2 separate regions of the Homo sapiens genome follow, and region 1 is linked to region 2. Evidence: promoter capture Hi-C in 16 types of primary human blood cells and fetal thymus (Javierre and others, 2016). All regions are on one chromosome and are shown on one strand. The core of a region is centred on a gene start or on the middle of the fragment in contact, and the rest is flanking DNA. Distances in the headings are between cores, read along the strand shown. Region 1 holds the start of RPTOR (regulatory associated protein of MTOR complex 1). Region 2 holds the start of CEP131 (centrosomal protein 131).

Region 1 (5,507 bases), core at 121-2,620, 680 kb after region 2:
ATCAGACTTCTGCACTTCACCCAGCTTGGATATTTTAAAAAGTAGACTAATCATGTGGGTATAAAGATTATATCGCACGTTGTCCTTCCTCTAAGTGTTTACAGAACTAAGTAGTATGCCAAAGAGCATGTAAATACTCGCAATGCTCTATTTTCAAATTTGCTTAACTTTTATTATCTGAATTAGAACTTAGTTGGAATTGAATTAACACTACCCAGTGAATAATGACTAACCAAAACAGCATTTTCCATTTTCAACCAAAAACTGCAGTCTGAAATGGCTTTTGCTTTCTAGTTGACTTACAACGTGTGGCTAGGGGGAAATGTCGGCGCTTTCCCAAGGACACTTTTCGGGCTGTAAACTTTCTTTGTTGGGGAAACTACCAAGTTCAAGGGGTGCCTTCAGAATCCACTTACCCGATCCTTCATCCTCCAGCTCTGAGCTAAGGATTTGGAGCCTTCAATTTTCTCACAGTGCCTCTTTTTCATAAAAGCCAAAGGTAGGTTCCAGTCTGTAAGATCAGCCTCATCTTCCTCCCCCAGGCCCAGAAGAGGCGATTGCAGCATTTCGGACTCCATCAGTGGGGGAGGGGGTGGGGGAGTCCTTGGCAGCAAGCGCTCGAGAACCTCCAGCCTTAAAAACTAGCGTGTACCAGAATTGGTGAAATAAGAAACAAAAACGGGAAATCGAAAACCAAATGGATAAAGAGTGCGGAGACCCTTACTCAGGCAAAAGTCTGAGATCCTTATCTCTAACTCTGAGCGGGAAGTGGGGAGGTGGGGGCCGCTAGGAAATGGGGCAGCCCAAGAAGCTCCGCAGACACACACCACCCCAGGTCCCAAGCCACTGGCTGCTCCTGAGGCTGTACGTTTCCAGAGGGGCTGCGAGGGGAGCTGCCAAAAGCGTAAGAGACTTCAGGCCTCACGATGACCCTGCTCTCGGCCTCCACCGCCTCAGCAGTTCCGAAGACAGGCAGGCCGCTCTTGGTGCCGGTTCGCCCACTGGGCCGACTGGGCTGAGGTCTCCGGCCAAGGGATCGGGTTCAAAGGGCCCTGGGTCTCCTCCAGCCACTCTCAGCCCTGCGGGTCCCGCACTCGTCTGAGCTGCTGCAACCAGAGCCACGACCGGCCCATCGTGCTCGCCTGCACCCGGTTCCTCAACCTCAGGTCCGCGCGGCCTGGCTGGTCCTGGCCTTCAGCCCCGAGGCTCTCTCCTGCCTGAGAACGAGTCCTGAGAAACGGGCGACACGGAACCACGGAGGAAAGGGACAATGTGGGCTTATTGGGTCATGGGAGCTTTGCCCTCTGGTTTGGAGCTACAGTGAAACTCATCTCATCAGCCCATCAAGGAGGACGCCATATTGCCAGGACCCAGAATGCACCGCGGCCTACGGCGTGGCCGACAGACCAAACCTCCTCAGAGCGGTCTCTCCCCGCCACCCAGCATGCAGCGAAGGAGAAAGAGTCCCCGACCCCGTTACCTCGGTTACCATAATTCCGTTTTCCCCAGTTAATCGCCATTTGTTCAGTAGAGGCGTGTTATTAAAGTCAATCCTACAAATGAAACTGTCGGTTTAATTTATTTTTTCAAAAACATTGTCATTATAAATGAAGTTACATGCTCCTGAAATTAAAGGAATCAACCGCCTTGTTTCTTCCAGATTTTGAAAAAGCGGCAAAAGCTTCACTGATAATATTAGAAAATATTAAAAAGCACTGATAATATTAGAAAATATAGTACTTTTTTTTTTGGAGTGTAGTGTCCTCCACAGTGTCAATCAGATTTTCTCTTTAATTTTTTCATAGAGAACCAAGTGAAAGGCCGGGCGCCGTGGCTCACGCCTGTAATCCCAGCACTTTGGGAGGCCGAAGCGGGCAGATCACGAGGTCAAGAGATCGAGACCAGCCTGGCCAACATGGTGAAACCCCGTCCCTACTAAAAATACACAAATTAGCTGGGCGTGGTGGTGCGCGCCTGTAATCCCAGCTACTCAGGAGGCTGAGGCAGGAGAATTGCTTGAACCCGGGAGGCGGAGGTTGCAGTGGGCCAAGATCGTGCCACTGCACTCCAGCCTGGGAGACAGAGCAAGACTCTTCAGATGAAGAAGGGTCTGAAGCAACAGAAGAAGAGTCTGGAGCAAGATTCGATGAAAAAAAATTTCATCTAATACAATTTTTTGTTTAATCTGTTTCGTTTTCTGAGCAGTTTATCCTTTTTAAATTTTTTTCCCACTTCTTGGTAGCAGTAGTTTATTCTTATTTTGATATAGCTTCACGTGCAGACATCTAAAACTACATGTCTGTGCGTGGAGGCAAGCCTCTTGTGTGACTCTCTTTTTCAATTCAGGAAATTTGGCTCATTTACAATGTATAGAGAACTGTGTAAGGTGGACTATAAAACCAAATGTAGGCAGGGCACCGTGGCTCACGCCTATAATCCTAGCCCTTTGGGAAGCCGAGGAGGGTGGATCACGAGTTCAGGAGTTCGAGACCAGCCTGGCCAACATGGTGAAACGCCGTCTCTAATAAAAATACAAAAATTAGCTGGGCGTGGTGGCGTGCGTCTGTAGTCTCAGCTGCTCGGGAGGCTGAGGCAGGAGAAGAGCTGGAACCTGGGAGGCAGAGGTTGCAGTGAGCCGAGATTACACCACTGCATTCCAGCCTGGGTGACAGAGTGAGATTCCATCTCAAAAATAAATAAATAAATAAATAAATAAATAAGAATAAAACGAGGCCAGGCGTGGTGGTGCACGCCTGTAATCCCAGCACTTTGGGAGGCTGAGGTGGGTGGATCATGAGGTCAGGAGTTCAAGACCATCCTGGCCAAGATGGTCTTGATCTCTCAGGATGGTTTTCCGGGGCTTAGACACATGTGGCCATCCATATCAAAATCTTGATGGCATTTGTGTTCCTTTCAAAATGAGAATGAAGAATACAATCCCAGACCTTTCTCACCCAGCACAAAGCAAGCCTTTAATAAAGGCTACAGGATTAAATCATTGTCATTCCGCACATTCGTTTGGTTATTACACCCCATGGAGCCAATTCTCCTATTGAAACTCAGGGCACCCTCTCTGTTGGCAGAGACTATCCTCACAGTTACCAGCAGAGGCTTCAGGGATGCAGGGTCTTAGGAAGACCCCGTTCTCATCTGAAGGCAACAAAATCACTCCTGTCCTCTGCCTTGTCACCTTGCTCCCCACCTCCGGTGGCTGTAGACAGCTGCATTCCAGCAGCTCTTGCAGGAAGTCACAGTTACAGAAAAGCAGCAACGCTAAACCCATTCATCCCTAACTAGCTCTGTGACCTGGGAAAGCCCACTGAATCTGTGTGAGACTCAGTTTCCTCACCTATAACGTGTGTGACCTTGGGAAATCCATTTTTCGTATCTGAAATTCTAAACGAAGGTGTCAGTGAGCACGTTGAAGTCCAAACCCACCAGGTGGTCAGAATCGCCCAGGAAACTAAAATTCAGGATGCCCAGCTTCCAACCCAGAGCCCCAGATCGGGGAGCAGGGAGACCGGGATTCAGAATCTGCATTTTTTTTTTTTTGCAGTTTTTACAGTTTTATTTAAACACAAAACATGCACATGAGCTGTCTGCTCGTTTTCTTCACTGCGCAGACTGGCATGGGGGTCAGTGACTCTGATGGCCAGCTGGGCGGCTCTTTCTGTGGTGGCTTCGCGGTTCCTGGAGGAAACACTGTGAGCGATCTCAGCGCAGTAAGAAGTGTTGTACATCAGCAGCACTTCCAGCTCCTTGACGTTGTAGACTGAACTTCCAGAAGCCAGTGGGCAGCGTGTGCTTTGTTTTTTTGTTGCTCCCATAACCAATGTTGGGCATCAAGATCTGGCCCTTGAACCTTCTACCAACCCTGTTGTCAATACCTCTGGGTTTCTGCCAGTTACGCTTAATCGTGACACATCGGTCTGACTGGTGCCGGATGAACTTCTTGGTTCTCTTTTTGATGATCTTGGGCTTCACAGGGGGTCTGAGGGCGGCCATGATGCCAAGGAGGAGATGGCTGCCCCCTCCATAGGCAGCGCCAAGGAAGAGAGCCAGAATCTGAATTCTTAAATCAGGTCGCTCTGAGGATAGTTCACAGCCAGGCAGACTTGGAGGTCTTAGACAATATTCGCTCTAAAGTCTCCTGCAGTGATTCAGTTCGGGTCCCATATTGGGCCCTTAATCAATATGTGTGGCAAATGAATGAATGCTATGAAGTAATTGTCCAGACTTCCATCTGACAAAGCAGAAAGAGACTCACCTTCTCCTCAAAACAGCAGAACAAAACACACCCTCTACTGTTTAACACATGTGACCCCGAGCCAGGGGTCCACTCGGGTCCTGGACTGAGGATGAAGACACACACACATTCTATGGTCCCCAACCTGCCACCAATTCCTGCAGATTTCAGCAAAGCCTCTGCCCTCCTCCACCCTTGGTCTCCACGTCTGTGACATCAGGAACTTGGAGAAGGCGAATTTCTAAGGATCCTTCCAGTTTGAAATTCTGTGATTCATGTAAAGACCAGAAAGGGGCTTGTGACTGCTCAGCTCTCACCCTGAAGGTTCAAGGATGGGCCTGAATCATTTTATGGCATCTTGACATTTAAAAGAAACCTCGTTCTAGTATGTCACGGATGATTCTCTTCAAGTCCCAGCCAAGCATTTGGAAGTGGCTCTAGGTTTTTGAAAGGCAGTGAGCATCTGTGAGTAATGGCAGCCTGGAAATTCAAGGGCTGACTTGTCTCACCTGGGTGATTCCATGACTGTGGCATGTGGTGGGCTGGCCACTCGGGGCTGCAGTTCCAATTTCCAATGTCTCCAGTTCTTCACAAGCAAGGACATCTATTGTCCACAGAGACTTTAAATAAGATCCTTTTTTTTTTTTTTTTTTTTTGAGACAGAGTCTTGCTCTTGTCGCCCAGGCTGGAGTGCAGTGGCGCAATCTTGGCTCGCTGCAACCTCCGCCTCCCGGGTTCAGGCGATTTTCCTGCCTCAGCCTCCCGAGTAGCTGGGATTACAGGTGCCCGCCACCACGCCTGGCTAATTTTTGTAATTTTAGTATAGACGGGGTTTCACCATGTTGGCCAGGCTGGTCTTGAACTCCTGACCTCAGGCGATCCACCCGCCTTGGCCTCCCAAAGTGCTGGGATTACAGGCATGAGCCACCGTGTCCAGCTAAAATACTTTAATCTTAAAAACAAAATGTTAGGAATCTCAGAAAACACACAAACCTGGTTTGATTCAAGCTATGAAAACGGTCATGACCAGCCTGGGCAAAATAGTGAGACCCTGTCTCTACCAAAAAAAAAAATTTAATATTTATACCTGTGGTCCCAGCTACTTGTGAGGTTGAAGCAGGAATTTGAGCCCAGGAATTTGAGGCTTCAGTGAGCTATGATTGCACCACGGCACTCCAGCCTAGTCAGTAGACCAAGATCCCATCTTAATTTTTAAAAAATGCAGAAATTAAGAAAGAAAGTGGGGGAGGGTGTTGGCAAC
Region 2 (5,505 bases), core at 741-3,240:
TGGGGAGCAACTGCAACACCTGTGGCACTGGTGGGAGCGTAGAGCTGTACAACTTCTTTGGAAAATAGCTTAGTAGGCCGATGTGGTGGCCCACGCCTGTAATCCCAGCACTTTGGGAGACCGAGGTGGGTGGATCACCTGAAGTCAGCAGTTCAAGACCAGCCTGGCCAATATGACAAAACCCTGTCTCTACTAAAAATACAAAAATTAGCCTGGCATGGTGACATGTGCCTGTAATACCAGCTACTCGGGAGGCTGAGGCAGGAGAATTGCTTGAGCCCAGGAAGTGGAGTTTGCAGTGAGCCAAGATCATGCCATTGCACTCCAGCCTGGGCGACAGAGGGAGACTCCATCTCGGAAAAAAAAGGAAAAAAAAGAAAAAGAAAATAGCTTGGCGGTTTCCTTTTTTTTTTCTTTTTCTTTTTTTTGAGATGGAGTCTTGCTCTGTCGCTCAGGCTGGAGTGCAGTGGTGATCTCCGCTCACCGCAATCTCTGCCTCCTGGGGTCAAGCGATTCTCCTGACTCAGCCTCCTGAGTAGCTGGGATTATAGGCAGACGCCACCAGGCACGGGTAATTTTTTTGTATTTTTACTAGAGACGGGGTTTTGCCATGTTGGCCAGGGTGATCTCGAACTCCTGACCTCAGGTGATCCGCCCACCTCAGTGTCCCAAAGTTCTGGAATTACAGGTGGGACCCACTGCGCCCGGCCGGCAGTTTCTTATAAACAATCATTTGATCCAGCAACCCCACTCCTGGGTATTTACACAAGAGAAATGAAAAGTTGTGTCCACACAGAAGCCGATGAGTGAATGTTTATGGCAGCGTCATTCATAATTGCCAAGCACCAGGAACAATCTCTGCGTCCTTCATTTGATGAATAAAACCATCAATAAATAAAACCATCTGAACCGGTGGTTCACACCGGTTACAGGATACCACTCAGCAATAAAGAGGAACCAGCATGAATCTCAAAATGCGAAGTGGTAGAAGCCAGACCCACAGGCGCGCTGCGCGACATCCCTTTTGTGTGACATTCTGGAAAAGGCTGCCTCTAGGGATGGAGAACAGAGAGAACTGAGCAGCCGCCACCAGCAGTCAGCAGGTACGGGATCCGGAGGGAGAATGTTCTGTAACTAAAGTTACACAACTCCACTGCACACCAAAAAATGTGGATTTTACTGAAACCAAACTTTTTATTTTACAGAGCACTGGACTTTTTAAAAAGCGGGGGCAGGGGAGACCAGTGTGCTGTGACTTTTAGGGGAAGGATGGCTTCCCTGGAGAGGACCTGGGCGGAATCCCCAGGGCTCCCGGAGAGAGGGGGAGTCACAGAGCGGCTACGCACGGGGCGCAGCGTTAAAACTTTGGAGAAGGAAAAAAAACAACAAAGCAGCGCGAAGGGAAGGAGGTCAGGGAGGTTAGCAAGGCGCCCACACGCCCTCGCAGTCGTACTGAGTAACGAGGGGAGTCGCGCACGTGGGTGGGGACAGAGCGGCCTAGGACACTGGGGGAGCCCCGGGCCGCGGGAGTGCGGCGGCCTGGGGGTGTCGGGGAGCCGAGCCGAGGCCGCGTGCTCCTCGCGCCCTCCCTGGTGTCTCCTCCCCAGGCCCTGCGTGCCCCGCCCACACCTGCCTTGCCCCGCCCACATCTGCCTCGCCCTACTCGCCCATCACACCCCCACCTCACGCCCCGCCCACAACCGCTGGGGCCCCGCCCCTGCCCGGCCAGCTCCTCCCGCCGCCCTCGGTCCCCCGCCCCCTATATGACCCGCCCCTTTCCAGCCGCGTCCAATCGGCCGCTCTCTGTAGTCGCGTCCCTCAGCCATCCGCCGCTCCTCCCACGCTTGAACTTCCCGAAGGACAGCCGAGCGGCCCAATGAGCTCCCGGGACGGCCTGAGCGGGAGCGTGAAGGGCCAATCCGGAGTCGGCGCGCGCAGGAAAGGCGGGCCGGCGTGACGGGCTGGGGAGGTGGTGCCAGGCTGGTTGCTAGCTGCCGCCGCTGCTCACCCCGGCCGTCCGGCCGCTTCATTGTCACCGGGCCTCGGGGCAGTGTTGGGGGTGGCGGGGCGCCAGGTCGCCGACCCGAGGTTTGGGCGCGACTGGTTCCGCATCCCCTCCCCGCCGGCCGAATCTGCAGGCCCCGCGCGCCAGGCAGGCTTCGCGGCTGCGCCCCCGGCCCGCGCAGGTGAGGGGGGCCCGGGCAAGGGAGGGGGTTGCAGGGCGCACGGAGGTTGGAGGGGTCCGGAGCCCGCGCAGGTGGGAGGCCCTGGTCCAGTGATGAAGTGATGGGGATCCGGGGCACGCACAGGTGAGTGGGGGGATCTGGTGCCCGCGCAATTGAAGGCGGGATCCGGGGGAAGTGAGGGGGATCCAGGGTGCGCACAGGTGAGGGAGGTCCGGGGCCCGCGCAGGTGAAGACAGGCTCGTGCCTGAGGGTGTGGGTCCCCACCTCCATCCCCTCCACCCTCTCCACCTCCCTCCACTCCCCTCCGGTCCCCAGGACAACATGGAGTCCAGTCCCGGCATCTCTGGCCCGGCTGCCTTAAGCCCTGGGGAAAATGGGGAGATGGGAGCTGCCCTGAGGACAAGTGGAGGGCTCTGCTCTGCGCGTGGGCTCTGGCCTCTCTGTCCAGGGTCAGGGTCAGGGTCAGGGTCAGCCCACCCTGGGAACCAGGTCCTGGCGCTGGTCATCAGTCCCCGCCCCTTCAGGTCCTGGGAGGGACACAGTTTTATCCAAGATGTAGTGGCCTCCCAGGCCTCCCTTCTTCTGGCTTGGAGGTTTCCATGGAGAGGCCCCGTTCGCCATCCCAGAGCCGCTTGCAAGTGTGGCTGGGAGAGCAGAGTCCTGGGCTCCAAGGGCTTGCATGGGTCCAGCCAGGGGTGGACAGTGCCCTGCAGGAGGAGGGTGTTAAGTTTCTTCCGCACAGCCGGAAGTGCATAACTGAGGACTGGGACCTGGTCAGTGGCAGGGTCAGCCTCTAGGGAGTAGGGGTATCCATCGCTCCGTGGAAGGGACCTTGGGGGACCTGCTGTGGGGTGCCGGGCTGAAGGAAGCCCAGGGTGACCTTGGGCGATAGGCTGGGTGCCTGCTGGCCTACTGGAGGCCACCGTGGCAGGGAGGTAATTCTCGAGGTTGGTCCCTGGCGCCAGCTTCTCCCGTTCATCTACGGGTTCAGCTGAGTGCCTTTCCCTGCAGGTGCTGGGGTTGCTCAGGAGCCACACAATTCATAAACCAACTGTGTGCGGCCACAGGAAGGGAGTCCGAGCCGGATGGGGAGTGAAGAGTGATGGGTGCTCAAGGAAGGCCTCTGAGTGCAGGGAGGGAGTGTCCTGAGACCTAGAGGCAGGGGACTGGCCGGGGCCAAGCTGGCTGAGTTTGAGGAGAACCAGGGAGGCTGTGTTGGCTAAAGCCACAACAAAGGGGCACAGCAGGGGAGCTGGCGAGGTCACAGAGAGTACAGGGCCAGATCTTGCAGGAGTTGGATGTGTAGACTTTATTCTCTGTGCCTAGGAAGCTGTTGCAGGGTTTTTGGCAGGGGCACATGCACGAGCTGAGACCCGTTCAGAAAGATCAGAAAGACTCGTTCAGAAAGAGGTGCCATGTGGGGACGGGCTGGGGGCCGGCAGGGTTTGCTCTGAGAAGTTCCAAAGTAAGGAAGCCAGCATCCCCAAGCTAATCCCCTCGATCGATCGTCAGAACCCCCGTCCCCTGCTGGAATAACACATTACCCAGGGAGTGTTTGCCCGGTGCAGCCTTGAGGCCTTGAGACCAGCATCTTGTCTGGACCTCACAAAACCACTCCCGCGTTTTTTTTTTTTTTTTTTTTTTGAGATGGAGTCTCGCTATGTTGCCCAGGCTGGAGTGCAGTGTCACGATCTTGGCTCACTGTAAACTCCGCCTACCAGGTTCAAGTAATTCCCCTGCTTCAGCCTCCCAAGTAGTTGGGATTACAGGCGCTCGCCACCACGCCCGGCTAATTTTTTGAAGTTTTTAGTAGAGGTGGGGTTTCACTGTGTTGCTTAGGCTGGTCTTGAACTCCTGAGCTCAGGCAATCTGCCTGCCTTGGTCTCCCAAAGTGCTGGGATTACAGGAGTGAGCCACTGTGCCCGGCCAACACGCAACCCCTTTTTAAAATGTGTATTTTTACTTAGGGGCCGGGTACGGTGGCTCATGCCTGTAATCCCAGCACTTTGGGAGGCCGAGGCAGGCGAATCACCTGAGGTCAGGAGTTCGAGACCAGCCTGGCCAACATGGCAAAACCCCGTTTCTACTTCTACTAAAAATACAAAAATTAGCCAGGCGTGGTGGCGGGCACCTGTAATCCCAGCTACTCAGGAGGCTGAGGCAGGAGAATCGCTTGAACCCGGGAGGCAGAGGTGGCAATGAGCCGAGATCGCGCCACTGCACTCCAGCCTGGGTGACAAGAACGAGACTCTGTTTCAAAAACATAATAAAATAAAAAATAAATCAAATGTCCCTTTTACAGAAGAAAACAGTGGGGCTCGGGGCAGTGACTTTCTCAGAATCACGGTGTGGGGTAGATGGCAGAACCTGGCTCACATCGACAATGGCCTGTGGCCCAGGCTCCCTCTGGGGTGCTGCTGGCTTATTCCCACCCACGGGCCTTGCCCTCGCCACCCACCTGTCCATCATCCAGGGCCCTCCTGCCCTGGCATACACTGACATTGGGCTCAGAACAGCTCCCTCATGTTCCTGTCGAGGAGCCTGCCACCAGCCAGAGGGGTGCATAGGTTGTGACAGGCCTTCCCAGGAAGTTTGGTGGCCAGTGGACCCAGCTGAGGCTGGGCTGGAGATGGTGGGTGCAGGGGACTGTAGTTCCCCCACGGCATCTCATTGCAGCTCTTGCTTCCCCGCTCAGGACCTGCCTTGTCCACCATGAAAGGCACCCGGGCCATCGGCAGCGTCCCGGAGCGCAGCCCAGCAGGTGTGGACCTGAGTCTGACAGGTCTCCCTCCGCCTGTGTCCCGGCGTCCTGGCAGTGCCGCCACCACCAAGCCCATCGTCCGCTCTGTCTCCGTGGTCACAGGCAGCGAGCAGAAGAGGAAGGTGCTGGTGAGTACTGTGGCCTAGGAGTCCGGGCCCCTGCCTCCTGGAGGGCTGTTGTTCAGTTGGCATCTGACCCCTGGGTCCAGCTCCACAGGTGAACAAGTGCCTCACATCTGGACATGCTGGATCCTCGTGGCTGTTCCAGGAGGCAGGTAGGACTTGAGTCTTACAGGCGTGGGTGCTGAATCACTAGAAAGTCAAGCCAGAGCTTGGATTCTTTCAGCAACAGCCCCAGGCCTCCTGTGCCACCGCCCTTTGGATTTGTTTGAATCCTCAGGAAATGGGGTTGGCTGGGCTCGGTGGCTCACGCCTGTAATCTCAGCACTTTGGGAGGCCGAGGCAGGCGGGTCATCTGAGGTCAGCAGTTCAAGACCAGCCTGACCAACATGGTGAAACTCCGTCTCTACTAAAGATACAAAAAAAAATTAGCCGGGCA

The links. Contacts are between HindIII fragments. The CHiCAGO score rates a contact against its expected background, and 5 or more counts as called.
Region 1: the fragment with the promoter of RPTOR here is called in contact with the fragment with the promoter of CEP131 in region 2 in 1 of 17 cell types (erythroblasts); the score reaches 5.4 in erythroblasts.

What each region holds. Positions count from the first base shown.
Region 1 is chr17:80,540,701-80,546,207 of GRCh38, reverse strand. It overlaps RPTOR (regulatory associated protein of MTOR complex 1), which reads right to left and starts at 1,370. Exons shown (of 34, transcript NM_020761.3): 1 at 417-1,370. The coding sequence starts at 578. It also overlaps the pseudogene RPL32P31. RefSeq lists enhancers at 23-849, 777-876, 1,157-1,516, 850-1,676. The HindIII fragment of the contact is 2,750 bases long and covers 1-1,683 here.
Region 2 is chr17:81,219,450-81,224,954 of GRCh38, reverse strand. It overlaps CEP131 (centrosomal protein 131), which reads left to right and starts at 1,990. Exons shown (of 26, transcript NM_014984.4): 1 at 1,990-2,186; 2 at 4,882-5,075. The coding sequence starts at 4,899. RefSeq lists silencers at 1,398-1,767, 1,928-2,257 and enhancers at 1,619-2,288, 2,289-2,958, 2,959-3,629. The HindIII fragment of the contact is 19,797 bases long and covers 1-5,505 here.